Regions from separate parts of the Homo sapiens genome. Here regions 1 and 3 are each linked to region 2. The links are contacts of gene promoters, found by promoter capture Hi-C in blood cells and fetal thymus (Javierre and others, 2016). All regions are on one chromosome and are shown on one strand. Each heading gives the region's core, a stretch centred on a gene start or on the middle of the fragment in contact. The rest is flanking DNA. Distances are from core to core; before and after follow the strand shown. Region 1 has its middle 5.6 kb from the start of IYD. Region 2 holds the start of PPP1R14C (protein phosphatase 1 regulatory inhibitor subunit 14C). Region 3 overlaps IYD (iodotyrosine deiodinase).

What was found. Contacts are between HindIII fragments. The CHiCAGO score rates a contact against its expected background, and 5 or more counts as called.
Region 1: a fragment that was not itself captured here is called in contact with the fragment with the promoter of PPP1R14C in region 2 in 1 of 17 cell types (endothelial precursors); the score reaches 5.5 in endothelial precursors.
Region 3: a fragment that was not itself captured here is called in contact with the fragment with the promoter of PPP1R14C in region 2 in 1 of 17 cell types (endothelial precursors); the score reaches 5.0 in endothelial precursors.

The regions. Positions count from the first base shown.
Region 1 is chr6:150,362,021-150,364,720 of GRCh38, reverse strand. No RefSeq gene overlaps it. Among named protein-coding and RNA genes, the nearest start is that of IYD, 5.6 kb to the left of the region's middle. The HindIII fragment of the contact is 2,363 bases long and covers 189-2,551 here.
Region 2 is chr6:150,141,738-150,144,437 of GRCh38, reverse strand. It overlaps PPP1R14C (protein phosphatase 1 regulatory inhibitor subunit 14C), which reads right to left and starts at 1,394. Exons shown (of 4, transcript NM_030949.3): 1 at 940-1,394. The coding sequence starts at 1,245. The HindIII fragment of the contact is 13,068 bases long and covers 1-2,700 here.
Region 3 is chr6:150,387,413-150,390,112 of GRCh38, reverse strand. IYD (iodotyrosine deiodinase) reads right to left here. Exons shown (of 5, transcript NM_203395.3): 2 at 570-761. Among named protein-coding and RNA genes, the nearest start is that of IYD, 20 kb to the right of the region's middle. The HindIII fragment of the contact is 1,840 bases long and covers 377-2,216 here.

The sequences.
Region 1 (2,700 bases), core at 121-2,620, 220 kb before region 2:
TGCTTCCTTCCCAGGACTCTCGCTCTTGGATTTCCACGATGCCATCCCTGCCTCCTTCTTGATGTGGATTCCCATAATGCTAACCTGAGCTAGACCCCTAGTTCTCCATATCCAACCCATCTCCATGGCCAGGCCTCTCTTTCACGGTCAAGTCAAGATAGCAAATGCCTTGTGGTCCCCACCAAGCTTGATTGGTAAAGGCCTCTGCTAATATCAGGGTTTCCATTTGGTTTTACCTTAGAAGAAGAGCTGTGGTTGGGGGCATAGTAAGTTGCCACACTGCTGACTTGTGGAAGGCCCAACTATCTCTCTACTCTGAGTAGCTCTAAAGCATCCTGGTCAACTTGTCTTCCCAATACGTTTTTCTCATCAGCTGAGGAAAAGGAAGGGTGTGCTACGGATGGATGCTTTGGAAGATGGTATGAAACACTTTCACACTGGTTGTGTTTCATTATTTACTTCAGATTGGTTGTCTGGTTTAATCATTTCATTTCCACTGATGACAGAAAATTTAATTTTGCTATCAAGACAATTTTGGCTAGGCACGGTGGCTCATGACTGTAATCCCAGTGATTTGGGAGGCCGAGGCAAGAGGATTACTTGAGGCCAGGAGTTTGAGACCAGCCTGTCAACATAGCAAGACCTCATCTCTACCAAAATAAAAAATAAAAAAATTAGCCAGGCATGGTGGCCCATAGCTACTCGGGAGGTTAAGTGAGGATCACTTGAGCTCAAGTGTTTGAGGCTTCAGTGAGCTATGATGGCACCACTGCACTCCAGCCTGAGTGACAGAGCAAGATCCTGTCTGATATGGTTTGGCTCTGTGCCCTCACCCAAATCTTATCTCAAATTGTAATCCCCTTGTGTCAGGGAGGGATGTGGTGGGAGGTGATTGGATCATGGGGGCGGTTTCCCCAGGCTGTTCTCATCATTGTGAGTGAGCTCTCATGAGATCTGATGGTTTAAAAGTGTTGTACTTCCCCCCATAAATTACCCAGTCTCAGGTAGTATCTTTATAGCAGTGTGAGAATGAACTAAGACATTGTCTCAAATAAGTAACAAATAAACAAATAAGTAAATGACCATTTTACCCCTTCTATTTTAATACAGAGACAAATATCATTCTGTCTCTTGCCCTTCCATTTCCCCGGGTGCCCACAGAGTGTCCTGGTACTGAGAGAGAGAGAAGCGGGTCTTGGTGTGGCCCCATCTTGGTGGGTCCCACGGAAGGGTCTAGTCCTGGTGGTCTTAGGCAACAGGCAGTGTGCAGGCTGCACCTACACCCAGACATAGTCTGCCTCCCACCACCTCCAAACCCAGATCACAGGGCCCTTCTGGCTGGTCCATCATCAACCAATCTCCATGCCCCTTGGGAGTAGTTTCCAAGTCTCTTGGGATATTTGTTCCCTTGCATTTTTGGAGACTAGGGGAAGGGGAGGAGGGTTGTTGCCTATCTCAGGCCTCTCTCACCTTTGCTATTTATATATACATACACATATATATACACACACACACATATATATACATATATACATATATATACACATATATACACATATATATACACATATATATACACACACATACATATATATATAATTTGATTTTTTTCAACTAGCATGCACTTAAATTTTTTTAAAAAATATTTTGAAAATTTTTGGGGGTACCTAGTAGATGTATATATTAACATGCACTTTTTGTATTTTTTATTGTGGTAAACTATATATAGCATTAAGTTGATCATCTTAACCGCTTGTAAGGGTACAGTTGGTGGCATTACAGTTACATTCACAATGTTGTGCAACCATCACCAGTATTTCCAAACCTTCTTCACCAGGCCACCAGAAACTCGAGACCCATTAAATAGCCCCTTTCACCTTCCCCCAGCCCCAGGTAACCTCCAGACTGCTTTCTCTCTCTGTGAATTTGATGACTCTAGGCACCTCGTATCATGTGAAACTACACAGCATTGGTCCTTTTGTCACCAGCTTATTTCACTTACCACAATGGCCTCGAGGTTCATCCATGTTGTAGCAGGTGTCAGAACTCTCCCAAAAGATTGCAAAAACCATAATCTCACACAAAGGTCATCACAACCTTACACAAAAAAAATACTTCTGGGAGGACATCTGCCCAGCAACAGCCTGTCCAATCTCGAATTGGCATCATTCTTATTATTGGTCCTTGTAGCCAAGGATAATTATCTCAAAATTTTGAGATAGTTATTTTATATCAAAATAAAATACGCATGCCATTAATAAGCTATGTTCATATTTGGGGAGGTAAGGGAAAATAATAATAAAATTTAAATTAGAAATTAAAAATACTAATAATAAAAGAAAGAAATGATTTTCCCTTACCTCCCTGAATATGAACATAGCTTATTACGGCATGCGTATTACCTTGCAATTTCCTAATCCTTAAGTAAAAATTATTTTTTTTAGAGAGCCTCTCTTTGTTTGTTAAACTGTGGGCTGACAATAGAATCGCACACACACAGAGTCCCTGATTTAGGCTAAGAGGGGACAGGACCCACGGAGGAGCTGAAGCTTTTATGTAGTCTTGAACTCATTGTCTTCTGGGACAGTGCTGCTCAAGGTGCCAGTCCAGAAAGGAGCTTGTGCCAGAATGTAATCAACGCAGCTTCCTTCCTCAGGAAAGTCTTGTCCCCTCTCCCCCACAAAAAGGCCAGTGGAACTA
Region 2 (2,700 bases), core at 145-2,644:
ATTCAAGATGCTCATGAGAGATCATTTTGGCTTCAGTCGTTTTGCTGCAGTTTATTCTACATATTTCTCCCTAAATCAAATGTATACACGTCCCTGAGACTTGTGTATGACCTTAGTCCCTGGACCTTGGGAAGTCACGATGTCGTGGAGGAGAGGGGAGCTGGGAGCCTGAAGCTGACAGATCCCGGGATCCCGCAGGCCCCCCGCAGGGCTCCCGCCCTTCCACCGAGGCACCCGTCGAGGTTGCCCCAGATGCTCATTCTGCGCCCATCAATGGGAGTAACTGAGCTTAGAGAGGAAAAACTACGGCTTCAACAAAGCACAACGTGTGCAGCTCTGATAATGCAGGGCGGAATTATGGAGACACCGTCGGGGCTGGCTGGAAAGCGGAAAGCGTTCCATCTCAGGATTTTCACGGGGAATTTCAAGAACCAAGGGGGCCTCTGAGATCCCCAGAACCTCTCCTTTCCACGAGGCAGCTTCCTTCCTTCCCTGCTCGTTCTCCACAAAAATCAGGGCTGCCCGGATCCCAGCAGTGAGCGCTGCTCTCTTTGGCTGCTGTATCCCCAACCGCTGCTGAGGCGCAGCTGGAGTGAGCCCCTCCGAGCCCCGCTTTGCGCAGCTGCAGCTGGAGCCCAGAGGCGCCCGGAGCTCGGAGAAAAGCACTGTGCTCCGCGGGACCCAACCCTCCCCACGGCCACCAAGGGGGCCCGCAGATCCCCGGGCACCGGCAGCCGAACCCAGACAGGGGCGTCCCAACCGCTGAGCCCGACGCCAGAGGGCACCGCGGGGGAGAGAAGGCGCCGCGCCTCGCTCCTGGCACTTGGTCCCCGGGAGTCAGGGACATGCGCGCCCCGGAGCTGGAGCCCGGGAAAATTACTGCGCGGGCACAGAGGAGCTAGAGAGGTCCCCGACCCTCCCAGCCCCGCGCCCAGGTACCTCGCAGCCGTAGAGCTGACCCAGCTGCTCCACGATCCATTCCTCCAGCACCAGCCGCTTCCGAAGCTCCTTACGATCGTATTTCACTGTCACTTTTCCCTGCTGGTGTCGCCGCTGCTGTTGCTGCTGAACCTGCCCTGCAGCGGCCGCCGTGGCCACGGGCGCCGAGTCCTCCCGGGAGGAGCCTGAGCCGCTGCTGGAGCCGGGGCTGCCACCGGCGCCACCCCGGGGGCTTTGGAAGAAAACCCGTGCGCCGCCGCCGCTGGCCCCGCCGGCCGTCTCGCTGCTGCCCGTCGCCACCGACATGTCCCCGCGCGCCCGAGCCTCAGTGCGGCCCGGAGGAGGGGCGGGCGGAGCGCGCCCGGCGCCGCTACCACCTCCGGCCCGGCAGCCGCATGCGAAGGGCTCCCCGGCACCTGCTCTGCGCCGCGCGCGCCCAGCCGCCCGGCTGCTCTGGGAGGGCGGGAGGAGCCGCGGCGAGAGGGAGGAGGGCGGGGAGGACGACGGGGCGGGGACCGCAGCCTTAAAGAAGCCGCCGAGGACCCTCTCGGTCCAGCCCCCAGAGGCGGGATCTGGCGCCTGCGGCAGAGAGGGCCCGGGGCGTGGGAGTCTCCGCGGGGCGGGAAATGTGTGCGCCTAGACACGGGAGGTCGCCGATGTGTAGACTCCGGAAGGACGGGCGTGGGGCGGGGTGCCAGGGGATGCTCCTGCGCGGGTGTCCGTGGCCTCTAGTCTCGGAGACAGGGACTCACGCTTCTCCCGCAATCCCGGAGCGCAGGAAACGCGCCGCCTCTCGGGGCCTCCACCTGGCGCGGCCCCGGGCAGGACCCGCAGCGAAGGGGACACAGGAAAGGACCGCGCCGCAGGCTCCCCCAGGAGGTTTTCCTAGCCCCACCGTCTCCTCTGTTGGCTGGGTAGCGTCCCCTCCCCTCCAGCCCCGCCCCACGGCTCCAAACACACATTCCTATTCATGCCACGATGGATGCCACTTCCTCTCTGGATTGTGAGAAACATCGAAGAGGCGATGTTTGTGCAATAAGGCAGTCACGGCGCTTGAGAAATTATTTCCAGACCAATGTTTTCTTTCCTTACTAAGCGTCTGCTTAATCATGGGCACAGCATTCGGATATCTTCGTATCCAAAGGGCAGAAAGCGTGACGGCGCTCAGGCAAGGCGTCTGGGGGCATCCAGACAGTAAACATTTCTCTAAGAGGGTCGGCGACAGGGTCCTGGTTTCACATTTCTAGTGTTGCGTCCCGTGCACTGCCAGCTTTCTCTCCATCCCATTCCAAACAGCCCCTTCCACCCAGGAGGGCAACAGCACTGCCTGACTCTACTGCAAAACATCACAGCCTAGTAGTTACACATGAAGGAGCTTCTCAGAAGGGTTAGGACAATAAGGTGGGGAGGGAAGTTGTAAACAGAAAACTGCATGTGTAAAATTAGGGAGACACTAACATATTCTTCTTGTACACAACAATACATTCCTGTTCAGGAACTGATAGAAACCACAGAGACGTCCGAATGAATACAAGTAAGCGGCTTTTAGTAACGGTTTTGTTTTGTTTTGTTTTTTGAGACGGAGTCTCTCTGTTGCCCAGGCTGGGGAGCAGTGGCGAGATCTCGGCTCACTGCAACCTCTGACTTCGGGGTTCAAGCGATTCTCCTGCCTCACCCTCCTGAAGAGCTGGGATTACAGGCTTTCGCCACCACACCAAGCTAATTTTTGTATTTTTAGTAGAGACAGGGTTTCACCATGTT
Region 3 (2,700 bases), core at 47-2,546, 250 kb before region 2:
CTCCTCCCCATTTTCTGTAGCTCTGATTTTTTTTCCTCAGTGGAAATATTAATTTACATTAAAAATGGGTTTTTTCTTGCTTTGTTTTACTGTGCAAATTTACATAAGTAAACTTTGCTAGTTAATGAGAATACTGTACTACAGCATCATGGTGTGTAATATAAGAAATTTGCTTCCAAAAAAAACAAATATAACTGTGAGTATGCGAGTGTGTGTATGTCTGGTGTGTTTTAAGGAGAGGGAAAGAAAGAAGGTGTATCTCCTCCAATATATTAATATAATGATGTGATCAGAAATCTTGGTTTTTAATTAAAAGATCATGAACTGAATAATTTCAGAAGTTTTGAACTATTGTCACATCTTCTTCCAAGAAGCTTGTAATAGTCAAAATGTGGAAAGTAGAAGTCATTGTGTTTCTGGCACTCACTCAGCATTTGGGTAAGACTTTATAGATAAACATATCACTCTAGGCTTTATTCGCTATGTTTAAACTTTGACATTTTTCCATTGTTGGAGTCACACCAGTAAGGTGACTAACATTTCCAAAGACCCCATCTGCAATTACAAACCTGCCGTTCTGATGACATTATCAATGACTTCCATTGGGACTTGCTCATTACTTATGAACCTGACTGACCGTCTCTTATTGAGAAGTTCATAAAATTCCTGAGACCTCTTAACCATTTCCTTCTCAGGATAGTGGTTATGAGAGAAGGGGATGTGTTCAACATTTTCTTCTGATTCTTGCCATTCATCAGCATCTGCAAATAAGAATAAGAAAGGTAACAAACTAAATGATCCCTTGGTCATAAGGTGACCGCTGGGGAGAAGAAGATAAAGTGCTTAAATGTGTAAGGTTATGAACTCAAAAAAATACTATAAAATGAAAAAAGAATAGATTTACAGAATCCTTACCACTGATCTTGACTATCCTTAAAACTCCAGCTGGGTGCAATGGCTCACATGTGTATTCCCAGCTGCTCTGGAGACAGAGGTGAGAGGATCGCTTGAGCCCAGGAGTTCAAGGCTGCAGTGAGCTATCATCACACCACTGCACTCTAGCCTGGGCAATGGAGACAGACCCAGTCTCTTTTTAAAAAAAGGAAGAAAAGTCCGGGCGTGGTGGCTTACGCCTATAATCCCAGCATTTTGGGAGGCCAAGGCAGGCGGATCACTTGAGGTTGGGAGTTCGAGACCAGCCTGGTCAACATGGTGAAACCCCGTCTTTACTAAAAATACAAAAATTAGCCAGGTGTTGTGGTGCACACCTGTAATCCCAACTACTTGGGAGGCTGAGGCATGAGAATCGCTTGAACCTGGGAGGCAGAAGTTGCAGTGAGCCGAGATTGCACCACTGCACTCCAGCCTGGGTGACAGAGTGAGACTCCATCAAAAAAAAAAAAAAAAGAGAAAGGAAGGAAGGAAAGAAGAAAGAAAGAAAGAAAGAAAGAAAGAAAGAAAGAAAGAAAGAAAGAAAGAAAGCAAAAACTCCAGACTATAAATCTAGAAAAAGAAAAATTTTACCAAAAAAAGATGAGGAATTCACATTTCTGTTAATGATGGACTAGGTTATTTGAAACAATCTCCTGTCAGTTGAAAACCACTCAGATCTCTAAATAAAGTATTTTTCAAAGTCTTTTTTAAAATCGTTGAGCCTACAACATAGCAAGAAATTTGCAGGCCAAAGTGAAGAGAAAATATGAACTCACACAGGTAGATAAGTGCAGAAGGTACATTTTTTTCTCTACTGTATTTGCCAATCCCTACACATTTGAATTCCATTTTTATATCTTCAGGGATTAAGGGTGACAGATATCAAAGCCCAGGCCCACACAGAATGTGAAGTCTAATAAGCTAGGACCCCAAAACTACATCCTTAGGGGAAGTGTCAATCATAAGTAAATTATTCCTCAACGGTTTATATCAGTTTGATGAGTCTTGCCTCAAACTTGAACTTGGAATAAACTTGTCCTGCCTGAAAGTACCCCAGTTGTCTAGCAGAAGAAAATGCCAATATACAAATAATTTTAAGTACAATCATCAGCAACCCATCAAATGCAATCAGGCACATAAAGAAGAAAACATATTGGACAAGAAACAGCAGAATCAATTTTAAAAAAATAAAGTCAGATGCCCAAAGACTCCAAATACTGGAATTATCAGACCCAGAAGATAAAACAACTATGATTACTGTATTTAGAGAAAAAAGACAAGCTTATATAAATCTGTAGGGTACAGGAAAGAATAAAAGGAAAAAAATTAAAAAGAAGAAAAAATAAAAACAACAGCAAAAATAAAGAATAAAAGCTAATATAAACAATCTGAAAAAATAGAGAACTTCTGGAATTGAAAAATAATAGAATTAAGAACTTAAAAGGATGGTTGACTAGCAGGTTACACTAGCTACAGAAAAATTAATGAACTGGGAGGTAAGTCAGAAGAAAACACTTAGAATTGGGCAAGGAGAGACAAAAAGATAGAAAATATAGAGGAAAGGGCAAGAAAAAATAGAGCAGAGTGAAGAGTGAGAATGTCTAATATACATTTGATCATTTGATTCAAAGAGTATATGGTGGAGGCAATATTTGAAAAGATAGCATCTGAGATTTTTGCAGAACTCATGAAAAATACCAGATCTACAGATTCAAGAGGGCTGGTAAATTCTTTTTTTTTTTTTTTTTTTACAAGAACTTTTTTCTT